Linked DNA regions of Homo sapiens: regions 2 and 3 are each linked to region 1. The links are contacts of gene promoters, found by promoter capture Hi-C in blood cells and fetal thymus (Javierre and others, 2016). All regions are on one chromosome and are shown on one strand. The core of a region is centred on a gene start or on the middle of the fragment in contact, and the rest is flanking DNA. Distances in the headings are between cores, read along the strand shown. Region 1 holds the start of PLA2G1B (phospholipase A2 group IB). Region 2 overlaps RNF10 (ring finger protein 10). Region 3 overlaps RNF10 (ring finger protein 10).

The links. Contacts are between HindIII fragments. The CHiCAGO score rates a contact against its expected background, and 5 or more counts as called.
Region 2: a fragment that was not itself captured here is called in contact with the fragment with the promoter of PLA2G1B in region 1 in 1 of 17 cell types (naive B cells); the score reaches 5.0 in naive B cells.
Region 3: a fragment that was not itself captured here is called in contact with the fragment with the promoter of PLA2G1B in region 1 in 2 of 17 cell types (M2 macrophages and endothelial precursors); the score reaches 5.6 in M2 macrophages.

The regions. Positions count from the first base shown.
Region 1 is chr12:120,325,810-120,330,720 of GRCh38, reverse strand. It overlaps PLA2G1B (phospholipase A2 group IB), which reads left to right and starts at 2,942. Exons shown (of 4, transcript NM_000928.3): 1 at 2,942-3,001; 2 at 4,701-4,860. The coding sequence starts at 2,968. The HindIII fragment of the contact is 6,320 bases long and covers 1-3,226 here.
Region 2 is chr12:120,541,387-120,546,376 of GRCh38, reverse strand. The region is part of intron 1 of RNF10 (ring finger protein 10); the gene reads right to left. Among named protein-coding and RNA genes, the nearest start is that of RNF10, 9.5 kb to the right of the region's middle. The HindIII fragment of the contact is 8,638 bases long and covers 1-4,990 here.
Region 3 is chr12:120,560,542-120,565,475 of GRCh38, reverse strand. It overlaps RNF10 (ring finger protein 10), which reads right to left. Exons shown (of 17, transcript NM_014868.5): 7 at 4,590-4,750; 8 at 2,406-2,531; 9 at 1,853-2,129; 10 at 1,533-1,666; 11 at 287-404; 12 at 1-48. Among named protein-coding and RNA genes, the nearest start is that of POP5, 18 kb to the left of the region's middle. The HindIII fragment of the contact is 487 bases long and covers 3,374-3,860 here.

The DNA of each region.
Region 1 (4,911 bases), core at 1,693-4,192:
GGCACGTGCCTGTAATCCCAGCTACTCAGAGGCTGAGGCACAAGAATCACTTGAACCTGGGAGACAGAGATTGCAGTGAGCCGAGATTGTGCCACTGCACTCCAGCCTGGGCGACAGAGTGAGACTACAACAAACACACACACACACACCCACACACACACACACACAAATTCCAAGAGAGGGTCATCCTGACCAATACTCCTCAAAACTATCAAGGTTGCTGGGCACAGTGGCTCACGCCTGTGATCCCAATGCTTTGGGAGGCTTAGATGGGAGGATCACTTGAGGCCAGGAGTTCAAGACCAGCCTGGGCAACATAGGGAGACGCCGTGTCTCCAAAAATTTTTTTGAGACAGAGTCTCGCTGTGTCGCCCAGGCCGGAGTACAGTGGCGTGATCTCGGCTCACTGCAAACTCTGCCTCCTGGGTTCACGCCATTCTTCTGCCTCAGCCTCCCAAGTTGCTGAGATTACAGGCACCCGCCACCATGCCCAGCTTATTTTTTGTATCTTTAGTAGAGACAAGGTTTCACTGTGTTAGCCAGGATGGTCTCCATCACCTGACCTCGTGATCCGCCTGCCTCGGTCTCCCCAAGTGCTGGGATTACAGGTATGAGCCACCGTGCCTGGCCCAAAAAATTTTTTTAAATTAGCCAGGTGTGGTGACACATGTCTGTAGTCCCCACTAATCGGGAGGCTAAGGTGGGAGGATTGCTTGAGCCCAGGAGGTTGAGGCTGCAGTGAACTATGATCGTGTCACTGCACATCAGTCTGGGAAACAGAGCGACACTTTGTCTCAAAAAAAAAAAACAGATAAATAAATTAAATAACCAGGCCCTCCTTATCCCACAGGGTTGTTGTAGAGGTGACATAGGAACAGAAGAGCACCAAGTTAACCAATTATAAATCTATATAGAGAGAAGCAGATCAGAGGCCAGGCACAGTGGCTCATGCCTATAATCCCAGCATTTTGGGAGGCTGAGGAGTGGATCACCTGAGGTCAAGAGTTTGAGACCAGCCTGACCAACATGGTGAAACCTTGTCTCTACTAAAAATACAAAAATTATCCAGGCATGCTGGCAGGCGCCTGTAATTCCCAGCTACACGAGAGGCTGAGGCAGGAGAATCGCTTGAACCTGGGAGGCGGAGGTTGCAGTAAGCCGAGATCGTGCCATTGCACTCCAGCCTGGGCGACAAGAGCGAAACTCTGTCTCAAAAAAAAAAGAGAGAGAGAGAGAGAAGCAGATTAGCAGTTACCAGGGGCTGAGGGAGTGTGACTGCTAATGGGTACAGGGTTTCCTTCTGGAGTGATAAAAATGTTCTGGAACCCCATAGAGGTGATGGTTGCACAACACTGTGAAGGTACTAAATGCCCCCGAATTGTTTACTTAAACGTGGTTAATGTTATGTGAATTTCAGCTAAACAATGTTATGTAGATATTTGGCCGGGCGCGGTGGCTCACGCCTGTAATCCCAGCATTTTGGGAGGCCGAGGCAGGTGGATCACGAGGTCAGGAGATCGAGACCATCCTGGCTAATGCGGTGAAACCCCATCTCTACTAAAAATACAAAAAAAAAAATTAACCGGGCGTGGTGGTGGGTGCCTGTAGTCCCAGCTACTTGGGAGGCTGAGGCAGGAGAATGGCATGAACCTGGGAGGCAGAGCTTGCAGTGAGCCAAGATCGCGCCATTGCACTCCAGCCTAGGCAACAGAGCAAGACTCCGTCTCAAAAAATATATATAAATAAATAGATATGTGATGTGACAGGTTTTTTTTTGAGATGGAGTTTTGCTCTTGTTCCCTAGGCTGGAGTGCAATGGCGTGATCTCAGCTCACCGCAACCTCCGCCTCCAGGGTTCAAGCCATTCTCCTGCCTCGGCCTCCGGAGTAGCTGGGATTACAGGCATAAGCCACCATGCCTGGCTAATTTTGTGTTTTTAGTAGAGACAGGGTTATTCCATGTTGGTCAGGCTGGTCTCGAACTCTCCACCTCAGGTGATCTGCCAGCCTCAGCCTCCCAAAGTGCTGGGATTACAGGCATGAGCCACCGTGCCTGGCCTCTGATATGACAGTTCTAATGCCCTTTAGTATTCTATAATTCAGACTCAGGCCTTTGGAATCCAAAGCCCAGGTTTTTCTCACAAACCCACACTGCAGAGCGGAGTGGTGGAAAAAAATAAAACCTCTGCCTTGGAATCAGACAGATCTAAACTGGAGCCCTATTTTGTCATTTGCCAACTGTGTGACCTTGGGCAAGTTACCGCAACTCTCTGAACCTGTCTCTTTATCTGCAAGGTGCACGACTGATGGGACTATTCAACCAGACCCAGTGCACAGATTCAGGCACTTGATAAGACATTGAGGCTGCAGGCAGCGATCTTTTTTCTTTCTTTCTTTTTTTTTTTTTTTTTTTGAAATAGGGTCTCACTCTGCTGCAGAGGCTCAATCACTGTTCATTGCAGCCTTGACCTCCCTGGCTCAAGAGATCCTCCCATCTCAGCCTCCTGAGTTGCTGGGATCACAGGTGCAATCCACCACCACACCTGGTTAACATTTTTTTTTTTAGAGATGAGGTCTCTCTATGTTGCCCAGGCTGCACTTCCTTCTTGTCTCCCTTATCCCAGCGTCCGACTGAACTGACGGCTTTGCTTTCCCCAACCAGCCCGTGAAGCTGGGCTGAGTACAAAGTGGTGGGTATGAGGGTCAAGATTGTAAGATCTGAAAACTCCAGAAACCATCCCTTTGGTTAACAGTTGCTAAGGACAAATGCATAACATATTTTCCAGTGATCCCATGCTGGCAAATCGTCAGGGTCATTCCTGCAACAGACAGATTCAAGGCCAGCCCCAAACTCAGCCAAGAGCAAAGCAAACACTCCAGCCTTATCTGGGCAGGGTTGTGTGGAGACTGACTATAAGACTATACCTGAGACTGGTCATCTCAGTTCTTTTCTCACCTTGACTGCAAGATGAAACTCCTTGTGCTAGCTGTGCTGCTCACAGGTAGGCAAGTCTCCCCGGCTCCACCCGCCTTTCTCTCCCAAGTGAGCTAAGATCTCACTCCTCTGGAATGGGGGCCACAGGCCACAGCAAACAGGGATGGCCAGCCCCGCAGTCTCAATTCGAGGTTCCCAGTGGGGCTTAAGGGCTCCTCTATTGGGGTTCCCTCAAGGCTGGCACTTTTTCAACCTGCAAGTCTGAACTCAGATTGCCTGAGCTAAGAAAGCTTGCCTTTATTTTCTTTTTTCCAGACAGGGTCTTGCTCTATCACCCAGGCTGGAGTTCAGTGGCATGATCATAGCTCACCACAGCTTCCAACTCGTGGGCTCAAGTGATCCTCCCACCTTACTCAACTAAGTAGTTAGGCCAATCTCCCATTTATTTTATTTTATTTTAATTTTTATTTTTATTTTACTTTATTTTATTTTTGAGACGGGGCTCACTCTGTCGCCCAGGCTGGAGTGCGGTGGCGTGATCTCAGATCACTACAACCTCCATCTCCTGGGTTCAAATAATTCTCTTGCCTCAGCCTCTCAAGTAGCTGGGACTTGTAGCTCTCAAGTAGCTGGCACACACCACCATGCCCAGCTAATTTTTTGTGTGTTTTTTTTGGTAGAGACAGGTTTTCACCATGTTGGCCAGGCTGGGTGACCTCCCTTTTAGATTCTCCTCATCCTGCTCTATTCTTCCCCTTTCTAATGCAGTATCCAGTTTCCTTACTTATCACATTTATTATTATTCTTATTATTATTGAGACAGAGTCTTGCTTTGTCGCCAAGGCTGGAGTACAGTGGTGCGATCTCGGCTCACTGCAAGCTCCACCTGCTGGGTTCACGCCATTCTCCCGCCTCAGCCTCCCCAGTAGCTGGGACTAAAGGCGCCTGCCACCACGCCCCGCTAATTTTTTTGTATTTTTAATAAAGACGGGGTTTCATCGTGTTAGCCAGGATGGTCTCGATCTCATGACCTTGTGATCCGCCTGCCTCGGCCTCCCAAAGTGCTGGGATTACAGGCATGAGCCACCGTGCCCGGCCTTATCACATTTATTATTTATTGTTTTTCTCTCCCACTAGGTTGTAAGCTCCATGAGGTTAGAGATTATTATTATTATTATTATTATTATTATTATTATTATTATTATTATATCTGTTCACTGCTGTATCTCTAGCTCCTAGGACAGAGCCTGGCACATAGTAAGTGCTCAATAAATATTCACTGGATAAACAGTGCAGATAGTTTAAAACTATCTGACCTAGGGAGGCTGAGGCAGGAGAATGGCGTGAACCCGGGAAGCAGAGTTTGCAGTGAGCTGAAATCGTGTCACTGCACTCCAACCTGGGCAACAGAGCAAGACTCCATCTCAAAAAAAAAAAAAAAACTATCAGGCCTAGCTGGGTGGCACATGCCTGTAATCCTAGCTGAGGCGGTAGGGTCCCAGAAGAAGAAGAAGAAGAAAAAGAAGAAGATATATATATATATACACACACACAAAGATATAAACTTTATATATATAAAGTTTTCATTAAAAAAAAAAAAAAACCTCTACCCACTTTCACTTTACCAGGTTCCTGGGTCCAACGGTCTTCAGAGGAGGCAGCTGGCAGGGGTCAGGGAGGCAGCGTGGGACCCGAGGGAGCAGGAAGGCAGTGTGTCCCCGGGGTGCTGGCAGACCGATTTGAACTCTGGCTATGTCTTCTTGCAGTGGCCGCCGCCGACAGCGGCATCAGCCCTCGGGCCGTGTGGCAGTTCCGCAAAATGATCAAGTGCGTGATCCCGGGGAGTGACCCCTTCTTGGAATACAACAACTACGGCTGCTACTGTGGCTTGGGGGGCTCAGGCACCCCCGTGGATGAACTGGACAAGTAAGTGATCCGCCTGCAGGAAAATTGGAGTGCCTGCCGGGGGCGGGGTGG
Region 2 (4,990 bases), core at 1,527-4,026, 220 kb before region 1:
TTAAGAAGCTGATACATTCACTTAGCCAACTGCCCTCCACCTCCCAGCAAAAAATAAGGGTGAATAGGCCCTTTGACCACCTTCAGGAATCTGGGTTTGGGCCAGAGCATGAGTGCTTTGAGCAAGACAACACATAGTAGAGTGTTTTTTTCTTGCAATAATGAAGCCTAACGGGTCCCCTCCCTCAAAACAAACACAGCGTAGATCAAACCACATGGATTCTCAATCCATAATGTCTTTACTTTACACAGCTTAACCACTGTCCTTGTAAAAGTTCAGTCAGATAAAGTTACAGGAAATGAAACAGGCATTCTGTATTAAGGAAAAGTATTTTACCTGGTAACAGGACAGAAGAGATTCCTTTTTAAATTACTATAACATAACCAGATTCTATACTACAAGGGGTTGTCCTAGGCCTTAGCAAATATATTCAAAAGGCATTAACAGCAAAACTGTGTTTACAGAAGCTCTAGAGGTCAAATTCAGAAGCTGTTAAATTGACAGAACAAAAGAAGTTGAGCTCTAAAAGCATACTGGGGGCTGGGCGCAATGGCTCACGCCTGTAATCCCAGCACTTTGGAAGGCCGAGGCAGGTGGATCACCTGAGGTCAGGAGTTTGAGACCAGCCTGGCCAACATGGTGAAACCCCATGTCTATTAAAAATACAAAAAATTAGCCGCGCATGGTGGCGGGCACCTATAATCCCAGATACTTGGGAGGCTGAGGCAGGAGAACTGCTTGAACCTGGGAGGCAGAGGTTGCAGTGAGCCGAGATCGTGCCACAGCACTCTAGCCTGGGCAAAGAGCAAGATTATCTCAAAAAAAAATTTAATTAAATAAATAAAAGCATATTGGATCAGATTGAGTCATATCCTTTTTAAAAATGGCCAGGCGCGGTGGCTCATGCCTGTAATCCTAGCACTTTGGGAGGCCGAGGTGGGCGGATCACGAGGTCAGGAGATTGAGACCATCCTGGCTAACACAGTGAAATCCTGTCTCTACTAAAAATCCAAAAAAAAAAAAAAAAATTAGCCGGGCATGGTGGCGGGCACCTGTAGTCCCAGCTACTCGGGAGGCTGAGGCAGGAGAACGGCGTGAACCCCAGGAGGCAGAGCTTGCAGTGAGCTGAGATCGTGCCACTGCACTCCAGCCTGGGTGACAGGGCGAGACTCCGTCTCAAAAAATAAAAAATAAAAATGTTTCTTGTTTTTCTCTTCAATTATAATATGTGTTCAATTCTGAAAATAGTGTAGAATAATTTAAAGTTGCCAGTACCCACAGAGCACTAACTCATTAACAGTGTTTTCCTTTTAATCTCCATTTTACATACGTGTCACAAATCTTATATAAAATGACAAGCATAGAAGATATATTGTTTTCTGCTTACTACTCTGTGAGCATTTTTATGCATCCCTAGTCTTCAGAAGCATGATTAATTGCTGTACCCTTCTTGGCCACATACTTACAGAATAATGTAACCAATCCCCCATTGTTGTATATTTAGGTGGCTTCTAATTTTTTGTTAGTTTAATATAATACCATTGGGAGTCTCTTTACACAGAGGCTTAGGTGATTATGTCAAATTCTCAAAAAGTGGAACTGACAGATAAAATATGGTCATTAAAGCCATTTACACATCCCTAGGTTGCTTTCTAGAACCGTTACACCGATTTATTTATACTCTAACAACATAATAATTACTTATGCACTTTATTTATTTAGAGACAAGGTTTTGCTCTGTCACCCAGGCTAGAGTGCAGTGGCACAATCTCGTTCACTACAACCTCCACCTCTCAGGCTCAAGCCACCCTCCCACTTCAGCCTCCTGAGCAGCTGAGACTACAGGCACTCACCACCATGTCCAGCTGATTTTTGTGTTTTTTGTAGAGACGAGGTTTGCCTTTGTTGCCCAGGCTGGTCTTAAACTCCAGAGCTCAAGTGATCCATCTGCTCGGCCTCCCAAAGTGCTGGTATTATAGGCATGAGCCAACACTCCCAGCCAATTTTTTTTTTTTTTTTTGTAGAGTTGGGGTCTCACTTTGTTACCCTGATTGGTTTCCAACTCCTGGACTCAAGCAATCCTGCCTCGGCCTTCCAAACTGTTAGGATTAAAGGCATGAACCACCATGCCTGGTTTATCTTTTTTTTGTTTTTAACAGTCTCACTCTATTGCCCAGGCTGGAGTGCAGTGGCGCAATCTCGGCTCACTGCAACCTCTACCTCCCGGGTTCCAGCAATTCTCCTGCCTTGGCCTCCCAAGTAGCTAGGATTACAGGCATGAGCCACCACGCCTGGCTAATTCTGTATTTTTAGTAGAGATGGAGTTTCGCCACATTGGCCAGGCTGGTCTCGACCTCCTGACCTCAAGTGATCCACTCACCTCGGCCTCCCAAAGTACTGGGATTACAGGCATGAGCCACCATGCCCAGCATGTTTTATTCCCCCAGGGTGGAAAGCAGTGGTGCCATCATAGCACACTGCAGCCTCAACCTCAGCTTAGCATCTTTCCAACTCAGCCTCCCAGCTAGGACTGCAGGTGTGCACCACCACACCCAGCTAATTTTTAAATTTATTTTGAGACAGGATCTTACTTTTGTCACCCAGGCTGGAGTGCAGTGGCATGATCTCGGCTTACTGCAGCCTCCAACTCCTGGGTTCAAGCAATCCTCCTGCCTCAGCCCCCCAAGTAGCTGGGACTCCAGGCATATACACCATTCTTGGCTTAATTTATATTTTTGATATAGACGGGGTTTTGCCATGTTGCCCAGATGGGTCTCAAACTCCTGAGCTCAAGCGATCCACCAGCCTCAGCCTCCCAAAGTGCTGGGATTACAGGCGTGAGCCATCAGGCCCGACCTAATTTTTAAATTTTTTTGTGCAGACGGGGGTCTCACTATGTTGCCCAGGCTGGTCTCAAACTCCTGGGCTCAGGCGATCCTCCAGGCTCAGGTGATCTTCCCACCTCAGCCTCCCAAAGTGCTGGGATTATAAGCATGAGCCATGGGGTCTGGCCCCACTTTTATCTTATTACAATGATTCTCAATCTTGCCAGTTCATAGGAATCACACAGATGAGCTTTTACGGAATTCCTATGCTCAGGCCTCACCCTCTAAGATTCTGATATAACTATACTAAAGTACCTGTCTGCAGACCTGTAATATTATCTGAGTAATTTTTTTTAAACTTAGAAAAAATTATTTCTTGGTAAGTACAATCACCAGCTTTTTATAGCAGGCTAAATAAATTCAAGGTTAAACAATGCCTCAGAAAGAAGAAAATGTAAGTTAATAAATCAGAGACCAAATTTTGAAAGCAACCACTTCACGCCCATAGTCTGTCAACCTCACTGTATAAATGAGATGTCATTCTCTCCAAACCTGACCACCTAAAACCTGGGAGTCAATCTAAACCATGTGAAATGGCAGCAATGTAAACAGAACAGTCACAGAAACAGGCTAGGTTCACTCCTACCAGTTACCCTTAAATCCTGCTTACGGACAGTGACCCTTACCTTAGTTACAATTTAAGGCCAGGCATGGTGGCTCCCTGTAATCCCAGCACTTTGGGAGGCCAAGGCAGGCAGATCACATGAGGCCAGAAGTTCGAGACCAGCCTGGCCAACATGGTGAAGCCCCATCTTTACTAGAAATACAAACATTAGCCAGGTGTGGTGCCACACGCCTGTAATCCCAGCTACTTGGGAGGCTAAGGCATGAGAATCATTTGAACCCGGGAGGCAGAGGTTGCAGTGAGCTGAAATCACGCCACTGCACTCCAGCCTGGGCAGCAGAGTGAGACTCTGTCTCAAAAAACAAATAAATAAAGTTAGAACTTAAAAACTAAACTTTTACCTATTACTTCAGTTAGCAACAGTTAGTGTCAAACATGGCACTAGTAGTAACAATTAGAAAGCAAAGTTTCAGCGCTGGACTTGGTGGCTCATGCCGGTTGTCTCAACACTTTGGGAAGCCAAAGCAAGAGGATCACTTGAGTCCACGAGTTTGCGACCAGCCTGGGCAACATAGCAAGACCCCATCTCTACAAAAAATTTAAAAATTAGCCCAATGTGGTGGCACACACCTGCAGTCCTAGCTGAGAGGCTGAGTTGGAAGGATTGCTTAAGCCAAGGTTGAGGCTGCGGTGTGCTATGATGGCACCACTGCTCTCCACCCTGGGCTACAGAGTGAGCCTCTGTCTCAAAAAAAGAAAAAGGCCAGGCACGGTGGCTCACGCCTGTAATCCCAGCACTTTGGGATGCTGAGGCGGGTGGATCACGAGGTCAGGAGATCAAGACCATCCTGGCTAACATGGTGAAACCCTGTCTCTACTAAAAATACAAAAAATTAACCAGGCGTGGTGGCGGGAGCCTGTAGTCCCAGCTACTCAGGAGGCTGAGGCAGGAGAACGGTGTGAACCTGGGAGGCGGGGCTTGCAGTGAGCCAAGATTGCACCACTGCACTCCAGCCTGGGAGACACAGTGAGACTCCATCTCAAAAAAAAAAAGAAAAAGATAAACCAGGCACAGTGGTTCAAGAGTTCAAGGATCTCTTAAGCCAAGGAGTTCAAGGTTTCAGTCAGTTATGTTTGCACCACTGCATGCCAGCCTAAGTGACAGAGCGAGAGCTTGTCTCTAAAAAAAAAAAAGCCAGGCACGATGGCTCATGCTTGTAATCCCAGCACTTTGGGAGGCCAAGGCAGGTGGATCACGAAGTCAGGAGATAGAGACCATCCTGGCTAACATGGTGAAACCCCATCTCTACTAAAAATACAAAAAATTAGCCAGGCTTGGTGGCGGGCGCCTGTAGTCCCAGCTGCTCGGGAGGCTGAGGCAGGAGAATGGCGTGAACCCGGGAGGCGGGGCTAGCAGTGAGCGGAGATCGTGCCACTGCATTCCAGTCTGGGCGACAGAGTGAGACTCCGTCTCAAAAAAAAAAAAAAAGGAAAACTCAGGGGATGCAGAACCCCAGCTAACTCAGCCACATTCTCTTGC
Region 3 (4,934 bases), core at 2,368-4,867, 230 kb before region 1:
CCTCCCGAGCCTTCTTTTGGCGCTGACGTTTCCTCTTCTCAATGTCATCTGCAGATTGGTCAGGTTGTAAAGAGGTAGACCCAGGACAACATGGTCATTACCTCCTCCCAGTATTAGCAGCTAAACCCACAACAGTAGGCCCAGCTGGACTAGATGAACAGATGAAGTGTTTAGGAGGTACTAAGACTCATGATACAGTTCCATAAGTTTCCTCCCCCACTGGGTGTCTAGCCACAAGAATCCCTGAACCCTACTATAAAGAGAAGCAGAGCAGGGGCATTCTCACCTGAGAACATCTCTAGGGTTTCCTTAGAGACCACAGGAGGTTGCAAAGCCAGTTCACAGATGCTGAACTCACAGGTGAGTGGCAAGTGAGAGAGATATCTGTGACGCTGTCGAACATCCTACATTGGAAAAAGGACCAATACTCAACAAAAGCAAGCCTAACTCTGAAAGCAGGGGGTCCTAACCCCGATATCCAACAATATATACATAACACAGCCAGCACTGGGGCTGGAAACAGTAGTGCTCAATTATCCTCATTTTGAAAAGCCAAAGAGAAACTGTCAACCTACAGCAAGGTGGAATAAGCAACCAAATCCAGTTATTTTTGGTTTGTACTGCAAAGGAGTGAACTGAGTCCAGCAACAAATAATCTAAAGCCCATCAGCTGTTTCTGATTTTTTCAAGGCCCCACAGCTGAGGGGGACGAACAGAGAAGATAAAGTTATTTGTTGGCAGAAAAACAGAACAGAAAAAAACCTGGGAACCACTGACAGAATAAATAACTGGGAAGGAAGATAAAGCAGATCTCCCTATTGAAAGACACTTGGCCTGAAATAGTAGAAAATGAAGCCCAATTTTTTTTTTCTGAGACATGGTCTTGCTCTGCCGCCCAGGCCAGCTCACTGCAGACTTGATCTCCCCAGCTCAGGTGATCCTTCTGCCTCAGCCTCCTGAGGAGCTGGGACAACAGGTGCACATCATCATACCCAGCTAATTTTTTTTTGTATTTTTTGTAGAAATGCCCTGGCTGGTCTGAAACTCCTAGCCTCAAGCAATCTGCCTGAGTAGGCCTCCCAAAAGTGCTGGGATTACAGGTGTGAGCTACCACATCCAGCCCATTTATTTTCATTTCTATTCTTTTTCTGCATATGTTTGATGAAAAATTTATAGTACTCAAAGAGTCTAATTTTAAATCTTACAACAAATTTGTGACATTTCTCCCAAGCAATAAGGAGGATAAGAAACAAAAATAAACTCCATCTTAAATAAAAGAAATATCTATATCCCCAAACTACAATCAATGAACCAGAGAAGCAGGGAACAGCATTAACTGATTTAACAGAACCCTGGCATGCTGAGGGGACACTTCACTTACAAAGAATTCACAGCACCATCACTGACAGAAAGACTAAAAATACAAAAACTAAAGGCCTTGAAGGTTTGTGAACTTAGGATGGCTAGGCCTACCTCAAAGAGATTAGGTTAATACTGCTGCCTGACCCTCCATTTCTACAGGAAGGCCTCACCTCAGACATGGAGTAGCCAGCAATCTCCACCACAGTTGCTGAGATCTTCTCGGGGCTCCTCTCCAGGCTGCCGTACTCCCGCACGAGGCAGCGCACATTCACAGGGTGCAGGAACATATGCTGTCCATCTTCCGCTGAGGACAAGGGGCTCTATCACACACCAGTCTTGGCCAGTCCCCAGGAGGCTCCCCACCCCTCCCCATGCCCAAGGGCTCAAGCCACCCAAGCCACAGGATCTAGTGGCGCTCCTCTGCTTAGAGCACCGGGTCACCTCTGAAACACCTCTGCGGCAACCCAGCCCTCTCTTCCGGCACCCTCACCTTGGTAAAAGTAGTAACAAGGAGAGCTGCTGAGGCGTGTGAAGCCTGACTTGGTGATGGGTTCCTGCTGGCTGGACTCAGTGCAAATGGTCCCCTCTTTAAGATTGTCATCTGCTAACTCCAAGTCATCACAGGCCTCTGGCAACCCCTCAGGCTCTGGTTCAGACACTGCTTCCTCCTCTTCTACCAGAGGGAGAGCAAGAGGTCTAGAAGGAGTGTCCAGAGAACAAACTTCCGTGGTTTCTTCATCGAAGGCAGACAGATACTCCAGCACACCCTGTTGCAGCAAACTCTAAGTCAACAGAAAGGATATCTCCTGCTTTCCGAAAGCAATGTGGCAAATGCAGACCTAAGAGCCAAGCTCCCTAGATGTTTATCTTAGCTGTCGTGTTCACTGATTTAACACCCCTGGGGAAAGAACTAATAACAAGCATACAGAAAATACTCATTGTCCCCTCTTCTCTTGAGAAGGTTTAGATCTCACAGTAATGCCTACCAGCTCAATGACAGCATTTGAGGAACGGCAGCCACTTAGTAACAGGAACACACTAACCTTCCTGGGTTGAAAAACAGACTCCTTCGCCAAGGGAGCCATCAGCACCAGTTGTTCCAGAGCAGCCACAACACCAGTGACCTCCCTTCTGCTTCCGGCCAATCCCGACAGAGCCTCTTCCCGAGTCTAACGTGGCCAGAGAGAACACCAGAGAAGGTTAAGTTTCCAGACACACACTTAGCTTGAAGGGCAAGGGCTTAGAATGGCCTCTCAACAGGACCAAAAGTTAAAAGGCAATGAGACCCAATGGGAAGGAATTAGGTGCTTAAATATCTCAACTTTGAGGGAAACAGGAAGCAAAAAGCATGCAATACCCACTAAGGATTGGAATCTGCTTAGAATCTGACACTGGGGAGTGTAAATTAGTTCAATCATTGTGGAAGACAGTGTGGTGATTCCTCAAAGACCTAAAGACAGAAATAAAATTTCACCCAGCAATCCCATTACTGGGTATATAGCCAAAGGAATATAAATCATTCTACTGTAAAGACACATACGGCCAGGTGTGGTGGCTCATGCCTGTAATCCCAGCACTTTGGGAGACTGAGGTGGGCGGATCACCTGAGGTTGGAAGTTCAAGACCACCCTGACCAACATGGAGAAACCCCATCTCTACTAAAAATACAAAATAACCCAGGCATGGTGGGGCATGCCTGTAATTCCTGCTACTCAGGAGGCTGAGGCAGGAGAATCACTTGAACCTTGGAGGCAGAGGTTGTGATGAGCCGAGATCACGCCACTGCACTCCAGCCTGGGCAACGAGAGCAAAACTCTGTCTCAAAAAAAAAAAAAAAAAAAAGAAAGAAAGAAAAAGAAAAACCAAATATCGCACACATGTTCTCACTTCTAAGTGGGAGCTAAATGATGAAACATGGACACATAGAGGGGAACACACACTGAGGCCTATCAGAGGGTGGAGAGTGGGAGGAGGGAGGGGATCAGGAAAAATAACCAATGGGTACTAAGCTTAATACCTGGGTGAAAATCTGTATAACAAACCCCCATGACACAGGTTTACCATGTAACAACCTGCATTTGTACCCCTGAACTTAAAAGTTAAAAAAAATAAAAGAGAATCTGACACAAACAACACTATACAAAAAACTTCCAGAACAGAAATCTAAGAACATGAAACTAACCTAGTTTTTACAAACTATGCTCAGACAGAGGTCCAGAGTAGTAGGAAGGATTTAGCTAACTCCACCTCAGCCTGGACAGCTCTAATTCTATGTAGCCTTTCTTATGCCTGTAATGGCATTTGAACAAATACGGCTGCAACGTATTATAGAAAGAAAGCAAAAGTTAAATACACAGGACTCTACCCAAGGAGCCCTTGGGAGTCAGGGAGAAGGGAATTCAAATACCAGCTGCATCCCTTACTAGCAAATTACCCAACCCAGGATTCAGTTTCCTCATCCATGAAAGGGGATAGTTCTATCTACCACACTAGAAGCTTAAGTGAGATAAATGTGTATAGCACAAGTCCTATCAAATGCTGATCACTCAATAAATATGGGCTTCTATTGCTCTAAGCTAGATCAGTGGTTCCAGGAGTGTGGTCTGGGGATGAGCAGCCATCAGAATCACCCTAGAACTTGTTATATGCAAATTACTGAGCCTACTGAGCTTAACCTATGCAATCAATATCTCAAAGTGGGACCTAACAACCAGTGGTTGTGATGCTTCAAGAATCTCTGTTGTGGAAGATAAAAGACCCAGGGAATTCTGTTCTTGTGTAATTCTTGCCGTTTCAGGTACTCCTAAGGCATACTGGGCAGGCCATAATACTTTCTCCACAATGTCTTTCAAAACACCTCTAGAATAGAATCTTAAGTATTTTCCCAGAAAACAAAGAACTCTAACTTGCTTTAAGAACATAGCTAATCTAAAAAACTCCACTGTCACAATTAGTTATAAAATCATTTTGACTTGCTCCTTTCAGCTCTAGAAAGAGCTTTAAAAGCCCTAGGTTAAACCTTCTCTACTGTCATCAAACAAAGCCCAAAACAAATTGGCTTTTTTAGCCATTCTCTGCTTATTGTCTTAAATGTGGAATGGAACTAACTTAATCCCCAGCGTCCATCATCTCACCCCCGACAGAGTGAAAAGGTTTAGCATTTCTGGTTTTCACCACAGAACGCCGAGAAAGTGAAAAGGTTTAGCATCTCCAATGCATCCTCTCACCTTGAGCTCCTGGATAGCTGCCTCAATAAAGCAGGACTCGGGAGTGTGCTTCTCCTCTGCCAGCTGCTGCTCTAGTGCTACTTTCTCCTCCAGAACTACCCGGTGCAGCACCTGCTCCTTAGAGGCCAGCAGCAACTTGGAGTACTGGCTGTGCTGTTCATCTATAAGAATGCCAGCAAGATCAAAGAAATGCAACATTCAAAGCTCACGATGGTGTAGCTAAATAGGAATTTTCAAATACAGCCTTTTCTCTGGGGTGAAAATGGGGTAATTTAGCATGATTTCCTAGAAAATAATTTAACAATGGTCTTAAAATAAGGTCTGTAGCTCTGCTCTTGATATAAG